2 separate regions of the Homo sapiens genome follow, and region 2 is linked to region 1. The links are contacts of gene promoters, found by promoter capture Hi-C in human tissues and cell types (Jung and others, 2019). All regions are on one chromosome and are shown on one strand. Each heading gives the region's core, a stretch centred on a gene start or on the middle of the fragment in contact. The rest is flanking DNA. Distances are from core to core; before and after follow the strand shown. Region 1 holds the start of SLC35G3 (solute carrier family 35 member G3). Region 2 has its middle 48 kb from the start of SLFN11.

Region 1 (6,257 bases), core at 2,393-4,892:
GGAGGGGAAGGCTATTTCCACCATATGCAAGTGGATGCTGCATTGGACACTGATGGGCAGAACCATCATGCTGGAAAATAATTTTTTATTTTCATGACAGCCTACCATTGAATTTACAATTCTGATATTAATGAAATATCTCTATAAAGGGTTGAAGTGTCTTCCTGCAACAATTGCCAAGGAACAAAATTGTCAATTTATTAATGAAACATGACGTGTGTTGAACAAGACAAGCTGGGTCAAGCATTTGAGGATGCTTTTGAGGCACTGAGGCAACATTCAACTGGAGATCTTTAGTACTCGCCAGATTACAAAAATTACCTGGCTTTAATCAATTATTGTCCTCACGTCAAAGGAAATTCCAGCTGCTATGGAGTGTTGCCTACAGAGGAACCTCTCTGTAATTGGAGAACGGTAATCAACAGTGCTGCGGACTTCTATTTTGAAGGAAACATTCATCAGTCTCTGCAGAACATAACTGAAAACCAGCTGGTACAACCCACTATTCTCCAGCAAAAGTGGGGAAAAGGCAGGAAGAAGCTTAGACTGTTTGAATACCTTCACGAATCCCTGTGTAATCCGGAGATGGCACCTTGTATTCAGTGGGTAGATAAAATCAAAGGCATCTTTCCGTTTGTATCAAAAAACAAAGGAAAACTTGCCGAGCTTTGGCGGAAAAGAAAAGGCCGTTGGAAGACCATGACTTATCAGAAAATGGCCAGGGCACTGAGAAATTATGGAAGAAGTGAGGAAATTACCAAAATCCGGAGGAAGCTGACTTACCAGTTCAGTTAGGCCACTCTCCAAAGACTCTCTCCATCTTATTTCTTGGGGAAAGAGATCTTTCCCCAAGTGTGTTAAACCTGATCAGGAATATCTCAGTTTAAATAACTGGAATGCAAATTATAATTATACATATGCCAATTACCATGAGCTAAATCACCATGATTGCTAAATATACTCTCATATTTCATGGTTTCCTGGCATTGGAAGTCCCTACAGTTTTAAGGATTTCTCACTCTCTGTCTCTTTTTTCCTTCCTCTGAAGGAGTTTAGGATTTTTCTCTTAAAGCAAACACTAAAGAGAAAAAAAACCAAGTAACTTTATTTGCTGCTTTTATCAAAGAGCATGTAATCTATACTAACTCAGTGGGAAATTCTGCCAATGAGCAGCTTTTTTTTTAATACTCTATGAAGATTCAATGAAAAACTTTATTGTTTCAAATGATTAAGTCCATTTGAAACTATAGACTAAATGTCCTTGCTCTGCTCTTACTATTCTCTCTAATTTTTTTATTTTATTATTTTTTAAAAGAGGTCTCAGCCAAGACAATTTTAAATTTTTATGGATTTAGGAGTACAAGTGCAGTTTTGTTGCATGGATACATTGCGTAGTGGTAAAGCATATTGCATAGCATCCTCATCATCAGAATAGTGAACATTGTACCCAATAGGTAGGATTTCATCCCTCATCCCCCACCCATCTGCCCACCTTTTGGAGCCTCCGGTGTCTATTACTCCACTCTGTATGTCCATTGCTAAGCCCCCAACTATACTCATTTTATTTTATTTTAAAACTTGTTTTCTTTTTCTGCATACTTCAATGGATGCAAACTCTTTTCATTTTTTCTTTTCCTTTCACAGACAGTGACTTCATTTTTTTTTTTTTTTTTTGCTGCTAACTCCCAAGCACAACACAGTGACTTATGTTTTTAATTTTTTTAAGAGGCAAAGCCTACCTCTGAAGCTCCTTTTTTTTTTCTTTTCCTACTTCAATAAGCTGGTCTACATTCTTACTCTTCTCTATGCAACCACTTTCTTCTAGATTAACAGTGCTAGTACAGATGATTTGATTTATACATTGATTTCAGCATTTTCTTTTCATGTACTCAGGTGAGGAAAATCACTCTTTTATATCCAATGACTTTACAAAAAATCATTTACAAAGAAGTGACTGCATATGATAAAATATTTGTGCCAAAATAAATTCATGGCTTTTAAAATGTCATAGAAATGTCTATTCAGGTATCTTTTTTTTTTTTTTTCACATTCACTGTAATCCTTGTTTGATGTCAATGTCACGTCACCACCCCAAGCGGGGGGCACAAGCACGAGGAAAGGAAACCTTCCCCGTGAGGGGAGGGGTGGGGAGGCACGCTTCCCTCCCCCAGCGCAGCTGCTGGCTCTGTCTTTGCCGGAACACTCCAGCCCCAATGCTCTTCTCTTTGCTGCTGAGTGAAGTCCTCCCCATGGCCCACGGCCTCCCTGCCTCAGCCCTTTGGATCTGCTCCTCAGACTTTACCCCTTAGTTATGCCCTGATTCTAGGACCCAGCCTGGACTCCACATCCCTTGGTCCCAGGCTGGCCCCAGGTCTTCCACGTAGTCCCTCTCCACCAAGTCCCCAAGTCACCCTTGACTCTGAGAGGTATCCCTCTCCCACACCAGTTCTTTTCCAGTCACTTCTCCTCCCATGTTTGTCTTCAGTCTTTGCCTTTATTTATCCCTGTCCCTCCCAACCCCCGGGCTCCCAAGTTCTATCTCACTCCTCCACCCTCCCTGTCCTCTCACAGCTGAGGTTCTGGGCTGTAATGATGGCAATGCTGCCCAGCACAACCCCTGCCGCCACGATGTCAGAAGGTGCCACAGTCTCATGGAGCATATAATACTGCAGTATAAGGGCCACAACCACCTCGGAATGTAGGACAGCGCACACCAGGGCAGGGTGGGCCTTGGTGACCGCATAGCCCACACATGTGAAGGAGACCAAGGCGAGGATCCCCACTGCCCCCACACAACTCCAACTCAGGAGGTCACTGGGCAACACGGGGGCCTGCAGCACAAAGAGGCCTGGCACAGAGCCCAGCAGCCCCACCAAGCCAGATAGGAAGGCCACTGTTGGGAGGCAGGGGGGAAAGTGCAGAGAACGATAGACCAGAAGCCTCAGGGACAGCGCCAGGCCTCCCAGGAAAGCCTCCACATAGCCCAGGGCGGTGTAGACACCCGTGGTCCCCTCCTGTAGTGTCCAGAGTCCAGGTCCCACAATGATGATTAGTCCTAGGATGCAGCCCAACAGTCCACACCAGTCGTAGCCACTGAGACCCTGGCTCTCAAGGCAGAGAGTGAGGACGGCGGAGCAGACGGTGGAAGAACCTTTGCGAACAGTGGCAGCGTTGCCAGCGGGCACCACCTGAACCGCACTGTAGGCACATCCAATGCTGAGGATGTTGAGCAGGGCACAGAAGAAGGCCCGGCTTCGGATGTCAGGAGTTCCCAGAAGGGGGTCGCCACGCAGTTTAAGTAGCAGGGCAATAGGGAGGTGGAAGAGGCATCGCCAGATGAGCAGCTCCAGCGAGGGCAGGTTGGAAGCCTGGTAAGCCATACGAGAAAGGGGGCCCACGAAGCCAGCAGGCAGGCCCCCACCCAGCAGGGCCACCAGCAGGCCACTGGTGGCATCAGAGGGCTGGCAGCGCTGGTACCAGCGGAGGCTGGGTGGAGCGGAGGGCGGCGATGGGTGTGTGGAGTCAGGCTGGTTGAAATAGGGGTGACTGCCAGCCATCTTTCCTTGGACTTTCTCCTCTCCTCCTGGCTCAGGGAGCCTGGGCCCCTCAGAGCTCCAGCCATTGTGACCTCATTGGAGTGGGGGTGGGATTCTTCCCTGGAACTCTCCTGAGGTGGTAGCACGCCTATTTTCCCACTGAGTCCAACTCTGCTTCTTTTCTTTCTTTTTTTGTTTTTTGTTTTTTTTTATTGATCATTCTTGGGTGTTTCTCGCAGAGGGGGATTTGGCAGGGTCATAGGACAATAGTGGAGGGAAGGTCAGCAGATAAACAAGTGAACAAAGGTCTCTGGTTTTCCTAGGCAGAGGACCCTGCGGCCTTCTGCAGTGTTTGTGTCCCTGGGTACTTGAGATTAGGGAGTGGTGATGACTCTTAACGAGCATGCTGCCTTCAAGCATCTGTTTAACAAAGCACATCTTGCACCGCCCTTAATCCATTTAACCCTGAGTGGACACAGCACATGCCCCAGAGAGCACAGGGCTGGGGGCAAGGTCACAGATCAACAGCATCCCAAGGCAGAAGAACCCTTCCCAGTACAGAACAAAATGAAGTCTCCCATGTCTACTTCTTTCTACACAGACACAGCAACAATCTGATTTCTCTATCTTTTCCCCACCTTTCCCCCTTTTCTATTCCACAAAACCACCACCGTCATCATGGCCCGTTCTCAATGAGCTGTTGGGTACACCTCCCAGACGGGGTGGTGGCCGGGCAGAGGGGCTCCTCACTTCCCAGAAGGGGCGGCCGGGCAGCGGTGCCCCCCACCTCCCGGACGGGGCAGCGGCCGGGCGGGGGCTGACCCCCCACCTCCCTCCCAGACGGGGCAGCTTGCCCGGCGGGGGCTGCCCCCCACCTCCCTCCTGGACGGGGCGGCTGCCGGGCAGAGAAGCTCCTCACTTCCCAGACGGGGCGGCTGCCGGGTGGAGGGGCTCCTCACTTCTCAGACGGGGCGGCTGCCGGGCGGAGGGGCTCCTCACTTCTCAGATGGGGCAGCTGCGGGGCGGAGGGGCTCCTCACTTCTCAGATGGGGCGGCCGGGCAGAGACGCTCCTCACCTCCCAGATGGGGTCGCGGCCAGGCAGAGGCGCTCCCCACATCTCAGACGATGGGCCCCCGGGCAGAGACGCTCCTCACTTCCTAGACGGGATGGCGGCCGGGAAGAGGCGCTCCTCACTTCCTAGATGGGATGGCGGCCGGGAAGAGGCGCTCCTCACTTCCCAGACTGGGCAGCCGGGCAGAGGGGCTCCTCACATCCCAGACAATGGGCGGCCAGGCGGAGACGCTCCTCACTTCCCAGGCGGGGTGGCGGCTGGGCAGAGGCTGCAATCTCGGCACTTTGGGAGGCCAAGGCAGGCGGCTGGGAGGTGGAGGTTGTAGCTAGCCGAGATCACGCCACTGCTCTCCAGCCTGGGCAACATTGAGCACTGAGTGAATGAGACTCCGTCTGCAATCCCGGCACCTCGGGAGGCCGAGGTTGGCAGATCACTCGTGGTTAGGAGCTGGAGACCAGCCTGGCCAACACAGCGAAACCCCGTCTCCACCAAAAAAATACGAAAACCAGTCAGGCGTGGCGGTGCGCACCTGCAATCGCAGGCTGAGGCAGGAGAATCAGGCAGGGAGGTTGCAGTGAGCCGAGATGGCAGCAGTACAGTCCAGCTTCGGCTCCGCATCAGAGGGAGACCGTGGAAAGACAGGGAAACGGAGACCGTGGGGAGAGGGAGAGGGAGAGGGAGAGCTCAGGTATCTTATACATTGTTTTCTTTCCTTCTCTTCTTTTGATCTTACCCACTTTTTTTTACAACTTAAAGCTTTTTTTTTTTTTTTTTTTTTTGAGACAGGGTCTCGCTCTCTCACCCAGGCTCAAGTGCAGTGACACAAACATGGCTCAAGCCCAGCTAATTTTTTTTTTTTTTTTGTAGAGACAGTGTTTTATTATGTTGCCCAGGCTAGTCTTGAACTCCTGGGCTCAGGCAATCTGCCCACCTTGGCCTTCGAAAGTGCTGGGATTACAGGTGTGAGTGACCAGACTGGTCCCAAAACTTTTTTAATGTTTAAATTTTACCACTATACTAAGGAGGAGTTACCCATCTTTTAATTGCCTTTTTTTCTTCTTATTAGGGAGGGGTAAGGAAGAAGACTTGGTCAGCAGAAAGCAGGTCTTAATTGCTTTTTTGTTTTGTTTTGTTGCTATTGAGTTGTTTGAGCTCTTTATATGTGTTGGATATTAACCCCTTATCAGATGTCTGGCTTGCAAATATTTTCTCCCATTCCATAGGTTATCTCTTTACTCTGTTGATTGTTTGCTGTGCAGAAGGTTTTTAGTTTGTTTGTTTTAGCTACACATCATGAACCAAGAAGCTTTTTACTTTGATATGATACCATTTGTCTATATTTAATTTTGTTGTCTGTGCTTTTGGGAACAAATCCAAAAAATCATTACCCAGACCAATGTCTTGTATGTTTCCCCTATGTTTTCTTTCTTTTTTTTTTTTTTTTTTAAAGGAGGCTGTCAGCTGATCCCCTATGTTTTCTTCTAGCAGTTTTAGGTTCTTGGTCTTAAAGGTCTCTTTTTTTTCTTTCTTTCCTTTTTTTTTTTTTTTTTTTTTTTTTGTTGGCAATTTTCCTGAGCAAACTAATGCAGGAATGTTTAAGTATGTAATCCATTTTGAACTAACTTTTGTATATGGTGTTGAAATAAGG
Region 2 (6,722 bases), core at 10-2,509, 130 kb after region 1:
GATAACTTTGCAGATTGTACCATTAGATCAGAGAGAAAACTTTCACTGCACTTATTGAAAGGCTGATATGTTCATAAAGATTGCTAATGCAATATGAAGCAGAGTGAGAGTTGATTGCATTGACAGAACTAATGGAGGACTGAAATAATTTTTATGGCTTTTTTTGTTTGAAATATTGCTGATTCTTTTTGTTTTGTTTTTTGGAGTCTGAAGAATTGTTTTCTTTTGAGCTATTTATAAACTTGAAACATATTTTAAGTGTATTAAGTAAATATACGTTTGTAAACAGAATTTGAGTCATATTTTTCTCTCTGCCTAATTTCTCCAGAATTTGTAAACTATTTGTAAATATTCTTAATTCACAGCAATGTATTTGATTGCATATGGTTCATAACAACATGTTTTTGATGCAGGATATTTTCTTGATGCCTTTGTGGGACTTGTGACTGGAGTGCCTTGTATACTCAGTCCACTGTGCTCAACCCCTTGCAGGAGGAAGCACTCAATTGAACAAGTGCAGGAACCAGCTGGCTGCCTCAGCACTGACAGAAGCAAATTCCATTTGCTTGGACCCACTGCATTCCATCCCTTGTGGAAGAGAGCATGTAAGCAAGTGAGTGCAGGAACTGGCTGGCTGCTTTGGTGCTGGCAGGAGCAAACACCATGAAGGCCCCATGGCAGAGTCCAGGTAGGGGTGCCTGCAACCCCAAGGCCCCAGAGGGAATGTTACAGTGCTCTCTTAGCTCCACCTTTCACAGATAGCACTGTGTTATCAGCTCAGTGGGCCCTTTGACTCATCAATGGGGCTGCTGCCCTCTGCCAGTGAGAGCAAAGGGCCAGTGTGACAGCCCTTTTGGGTACCTGCACTTGGTGGGTCCCCAATTTTTGTCCAGTGCCAAAGAAGAATGAGGTTGGCCAGGCGTGGTGGCTCATGCCTGTAATCCCAGAACTTTGGGAGGGCAAGGTGGGTGGATCACAAGGTGAGGAGTTCAAGAGCAGCCTGGCCAACATGGTGAAACCCCGTCTCTACTAAAAAAAAAAAATACAAAAAATAGCCGGGCATGGTGGCACACACCTGTAATCCCAGCTGCTCAGGAGGCTGAGGCAGAAGAGTTGCTTGAACCCAGGAGGTGGGGGTTGAAGTGAGCCGAGATCGCGCCACTGTACTCCAGCCTGGTGACAGAGCAAGACTCCATCTGAGTAAAAAAAAAAAAGCAAGAATGAGGTCAGGTCACACAGATGAAGGATGGTGAAGGTGGAGTTTACTGAGTGATGAAAGTGGCTCTCAGTAGAGAGAAGAGCTGGCAAGGTGGCAAAGGGATGGGAAGGGCAGGTTTCTCTCTCCTGAAGTCAAGTCACCACTCTGCCTCTCTCCTCCAAAGTCAAGTTGCCTCTCTGTGACATCCAGCCATCATCTATGTAGTCAATTCATCTTTCCCCAATGTCCAGCCACTTCTTCTCCCTCCTGGTTGAGGGAGGGAGGTTGAGGTCTTTATAGGCACAGGATGGGTATGGGCAGGCCATAGGTAGTTTTGGAAAAGGCGACATTCCATTGGTAAAGATATTATTCAGAAAGAACCAATCAGGAGAGAGTAGGCAAACAGGAATAGAAGTTCTCACTTTGGGCAGTGGGTTTAAGGATATTTCTGGCTTGAAGGTGGGATTTCCACTGGGGACCCTCCCCTGTCTGCTTAGAGTTTCTCTGCTTCCAAAGATTGTGTTTCAGAAGAAAAGTCTATATTAGATTAACGTCTGATTCTTGGGCAGCCACGTGGTCACCCATGGTATGGAGCTGCCTATGACACCCCTCCTCAGCATGAAGCAGCCAGAAAGATTGATGACCAGATTCCTCATGTCTGAGGAATTGATAAATAGAAAGTGGGGGCTGAAACTGACCCAATAGTCTCATAGACTGATCTTTTTGATAAACATAGAAATTGACCCTTCTGGTCTTAAAGCTTGAAACTTATATTTGTTTTATCTGCATTCCTTCCTCAGGACAGGACCTTCAGGCCTCTGAAAAAAAAAGGATCAAAGAACTGAAACTCACCAGATCACCTCACCAGATGCTGGACCCCTCATTCACCATGTTTGCTTCCTTGCCTCTCCCTAGTTCTTATTTTCTTACACATTGTTACATTTCTTCCCTGCTATATCAACCCCTAGTTCTAGTCAGTCATGGAGATGGATTTGAGACTGATCTCCCATCCCCTCAGCTACACCACCTGATTAAAGCCTTCTTCCTTGGCAATAATCATTGTCTCAGTCATTGGCTTTCTGTGCAGGGAGCAGCAGGACCTAGACTAAACCCCTGGTGTTTTGGTAACAAAATAAGGCCAGGCACAGAAAGACAAACATCACATGTTCACACTTATTTGTGGGATCTAAATACCAGAACAATTGAACTCATAGAGATAGAGAGTAGAAGGATTATTACCAGAGGCTGGGAAGTGTGGTTGAAGGAGTTGGTGGGCAGTGGGGATGTAGAATGTGTCCAAAAAAAGGAATAGAATGAAGAAGTCCTAGTATTTGATAGCACAACAGGGTGACTATAGTCAATAATCATTTAACTGTACATTTTAAAATAACTTAAAAGGTGTAATTGGGTTGTTTGTAACACAAATGATAAATGCTTGAAGGAATTGCTACTCCATTTTCCATGATGTGATTATTGTGCATTGCATGCCTGTATCAAAATGCCTCATGTACCTCATAAATATATATACCTACTATGTACCCACAAAAATTTTTTAAGAAAATATACCACTGCTTTTCCATTTGTCAAGTGAAAAACTTCTGGGTTATTTCCAGGTTTTGACTATTATGAATAGAGCTATTAAGAATAATAAAATACCATGGCCAGCATACTGAATGGGGAAAAGTTGAAAGCATTCCTCCTGAGAACTGGAACAAGGCAATGATGCCCTTTCACTGTTTTTTTTTTTTGTTTGTTTGTTTGTTTGCAGCTATTGTACAAGGGGTTGATTTCTTGATTTGATTCTCCCCTTGGTCGCTGCTGATGTATAGAAGAGCTATTAATTTGTGTACATTAATGTTGTATCTGAAAACTTTGCTGAATTATCAGTTCTAGGAGCTTTCTGGAGGAGTCTTTAGGGTTTCCCAGGTAAATGATCATATCATCAGCAAACAGGGACATTTGAGTCCCTCTTTATTGATTCGGATGTCCTTTATTTATTTCTCTTGTCTGATTGCTCTGGCTAGGACTTCCAGTACTATGTTGAGGAGTGGTGAGAGTGGGCATCTTTGTTTTGTTTCAGTTCTCAGAGGGAATGCTTTCAACTTTTCCCCACTCGGTATTATGTTGGCTGTGACTTTGTCATAGATGGCTTTTAATATATTGAGGTATATCTCTTATATGCCAATTTTGCTGAGAGTTTTAATAGTAAAGTGATGCTGGATTTTGTCAAATGCTTTTTCTGCATCTATTGAGATGATCACATGGTTTTTGTTTTTAATTTTGTTTATGTGATGTATCACTTTTTTTTTTTTAGACAGAGTTTTGCTCTTGTTGCCCAGGCTGGAGTGCAATGGCCCAATCTTGGCTCACCGCAACCTCTGCCTCCTGGGTTCAAGCGATTCTCCTGCCTCAGCCTCCCGAGTAGCTGGGATTACAGGCATGTACCACCATGCCTGGCTAATTTTGTAATTTTTTTCTAGTAGAGATGAGGTTTCTCCATGTTGGTCAGGCTGGTCTCGAACTCTCAACCTCAGGTGATCCACCCACCTCGGCCTCCCAAAGTGCTGGGATTACAGGGGTGAGCCATCGCACCCAGCTGTGTCACATTTATTGACTTGCATATATTAAACCATCCCTGCATCCCTGGTATGAAACCCACTTGGTCATGGTGGATTATCTTTCTGATATGTTCTTGAATTTGGTTAGCTAGAATTTTGTTAAGGATTTTAGCATCTAATGTTCTTTATGGATATTGGTCTGTAGTTTTCTTTTTGATTATGTCCTTTCCTGGTTTTGGTATTAGGGAGATACTAGGTTCATAGAATGACTTAGGAAGGGTTCTCTCTTTCTCTGTCTTGTGGAATAGTGTCAAAAAGATTGTTACCAATTCTTCTTTGAATGTCTGGTAGAATTCTGCTGTGAATCCGTCTGGTCCTGGACCCTTTTTTTTGTTGGTAATTTTTAAATTACCATTTCAATCTTACTGCTTGTTATTGGTCTGTTCAGGACATCTAATTTTTCCTGATTTAAGCTAGGAGGGTTGTGTCTTTCCAGGAATTTATCCATCTCTTCTAGGTTTTCTAGTTTACGCATGCAAAGGTGTTCATAGTAGCCTTGAATGATCTTTCACATTTCTGTGGTGTCAGTTGTAATCTCTTCCGTTTCGTTTCTTACTGAGCTTATTTGGATTTTCTCTCTTCTTGGTTAATCTTGCTAATGGTATATCAATTTTATTTATCTTTTCAAAGAACTAGCTTTTTGTTTTATTTATCTTTTGTATTTTTTTGTTTTAATTTCATTTAGTTCTGCTCTGATCTTGGTTATTTCCTTCCTTTCTTCTGGGTTTGGGTTTGATTTGTTCTTGTTTCTCTTGTTCCTTGAGGTGTGACCTTAGATTGCCTGTGCTCTTTCAGATTTTTTGATGTAGGCATTTAGGACGATGAAATTTCCTCTTAGCATCACCTTTGCTGTGTCTCAGAGGTTTTGATAGGTTGTGTCACTATTGTCATTCAGTTCGAAGACTTTTTAAATTTTCATCTTGATTTCATTTTTGACCCAATGTTCATTCAAGAGCAGGTTATTTAATTTCCATGGTTTTGAAGGTTCCTTTTGAAGTTTATTTCCAGTTTTATTCCACTGTGGCCTGAGAGAGTGCTTGATATAATTTCAATTTTCTTAAATTTATTGAGGCTCATTTTGTGGCTATCATATGGTCTATCTTGGAGAAAGTTCCATGTGCTGTTGAATAGAATGTGTATTCTGCAGTTGTTGCATGGAATGTTCTGTATATATATGTTGAGTCCATTTGTTCCAGGGTGTAGTTTAAATCCATTGTTTCTTTGTTGGCTTTCTGTCTTAATGACCTGTCTAGTGCTGTCAGCGGAGTATTGAAGTTCCTCAGTGTTACTTTGTTGCTGTCTATCTCATTTCTTAGATCTATTAGTAATTGTTTCATAAATTTGGGACCTCCAGTGTTAGGTGAATGTATGTCTAGTATTGTGATAGTTTCCTGTTGGACAAAGCCTTTTATCATTATATAATGTCCCTCTTTGTGCTTTTTTTTATTATTATACTTTAAGTTCTGGGATACAAGTGCAGAATGTGAAGGTTTGTTACATAGGTATACACGTGCCATGGTGGTTTGCTGCACCCATCAACCCATCATCTACACTAGGTATTTCTCCTAATACATCCCTCCCCTAGCTCCCCACCCCCTAACAGGCCCCGTTGTGTGATGTTCCCCTCTCTGTGTCCATGTGTTCTCATTGTTCAACTCCCACTTATGAGTGAGAACATGTAATGTTTGGTTTTCTGTTCCTGTTAGTTTGCTGAGAATGATGGTTTCCAGCTTCATCCATATCCCTGCAAAGGACATGAACTCATCCTTTTTATGGCTGCACAGTATTCCATGGTGTACATGTGCCACATTTTCTTTATCCAGGCTATCATTGATGGCATTTGGGTTGGTTCTAGGTCTTTGCTATTGTGAACAGTGCTGCAATAAACATACGTGTGCATGTGTCTTTATGGTAGAATAATTTATAATGTTTTGGGTATATACCTAGTAATGGGATTGCTGGGTCAAATGGTATTTCTGGTTCTAGATCCTTGAGGAATTGCCACACCGTCTTCCACAATGGTTGAACTAATTTATGCTCCCACCAACGGTGTGAAAGCGTTCCTATTTCTCCACATCCTCTCCAGCATCTGTTGTTTCCTGACTTTTTAATGATCGCCATTCTAACTGGCATGAGGTGGTATCACATTGCGGTTTTGATTTGCATTTCTCTAATGACCCAGTGATGATGACCTTTTTTTCATATGTTTGTCAGCTGCATAAATGTCTTCTTTTGAGGAGTGCCTGTTTACATTCTTTGCCCACTTTTTGATGTGGTCGTTTGTTTTTTTCTTGCAAATTTGTTTAAGTTTTTTGTAGATTCTGGATATTAGCCCTTTGTCAGATGGATAGATTGCAAAAATTTTCTCCCATTCTGTAGGTTGCCTGTTCACTATGATGATAGTTTCTTTTGCTGTGCAGAAGCTCTTTAGTTTAATTAGATCTCATTTGTCAATTTTCGCTTTTGTTGCCATTGCTTTTGGTGATTTAGTCATGAAGTCTTTGCCCATGCCTGTGTCCTGAATGATATTGCCTAGGACTTCTTCCAGGGTTTTTATGGTTTTAGGTATTGGGTTTAAGTCTTTAATCCATCTTGAGTTACTTTTTGTATAAGGTGTAAGGAAGGGGTCCAGTTTCAGTTTTCTGCTTATGGCTAGCCAGTTTTCTCAACACCATTTATTAAAGAGGGAATCCTTTCCCCATTGCTTGTTTTTGTCAGATTTGTCAAAGATCAGATGGTTGTAGATGTGTGACATTATTTCTGAGGCCTCTGTTCTGTTCCATTGGTCTATATATCTGTTTTGGTAGCAGTACCATGCTGTTTTGCTTACTGTAGCAATTGTAGTATAGTTTGAAGTTGGGCAGCTTGATGCCTCCAGTTTTGTTCTTTTTGCTTAAGATTGTCTT

The links. Contacts are between HindIII fragments. The study calls those that stand out against the background at their distance.
Region 2: a fragment that was not itself captured here is called in contact with the fragment with the promoter of SLC35G3 in region 1 in 1 of the 25 tissues and cell types used here (H1 embryonic stem cells).

The regions. Positions count from the first base shown.
Region 1 is chr17:35,190,751-35,197,007 of GRCh38, forward strand. SLC35G3 (solute carrier family 35 member G3) reads right to left here and starts at 3,643. Exons shown (of 1, transcript NM_152462.2): 1 at 1,770-3,643. The coding sequence starts at 3,557. The coding sequence ends at 2,541. It also overlaps the pseudogene SPICP2. The HindIII fragment of the contact is 5,493 bases long and covers 148-5,640 here.
Region 2 is chr17:35,322,656-35,329,377 of GRCh38, forward strand. No RefSeq gene overlaps it. Among named protein-coding and RNA genes, the nearest start is that of SLFN11, 48 kb to the right of the region's middle. The HindIII fragment of the contact is 7,056 bases long and covers 1-4,787 here.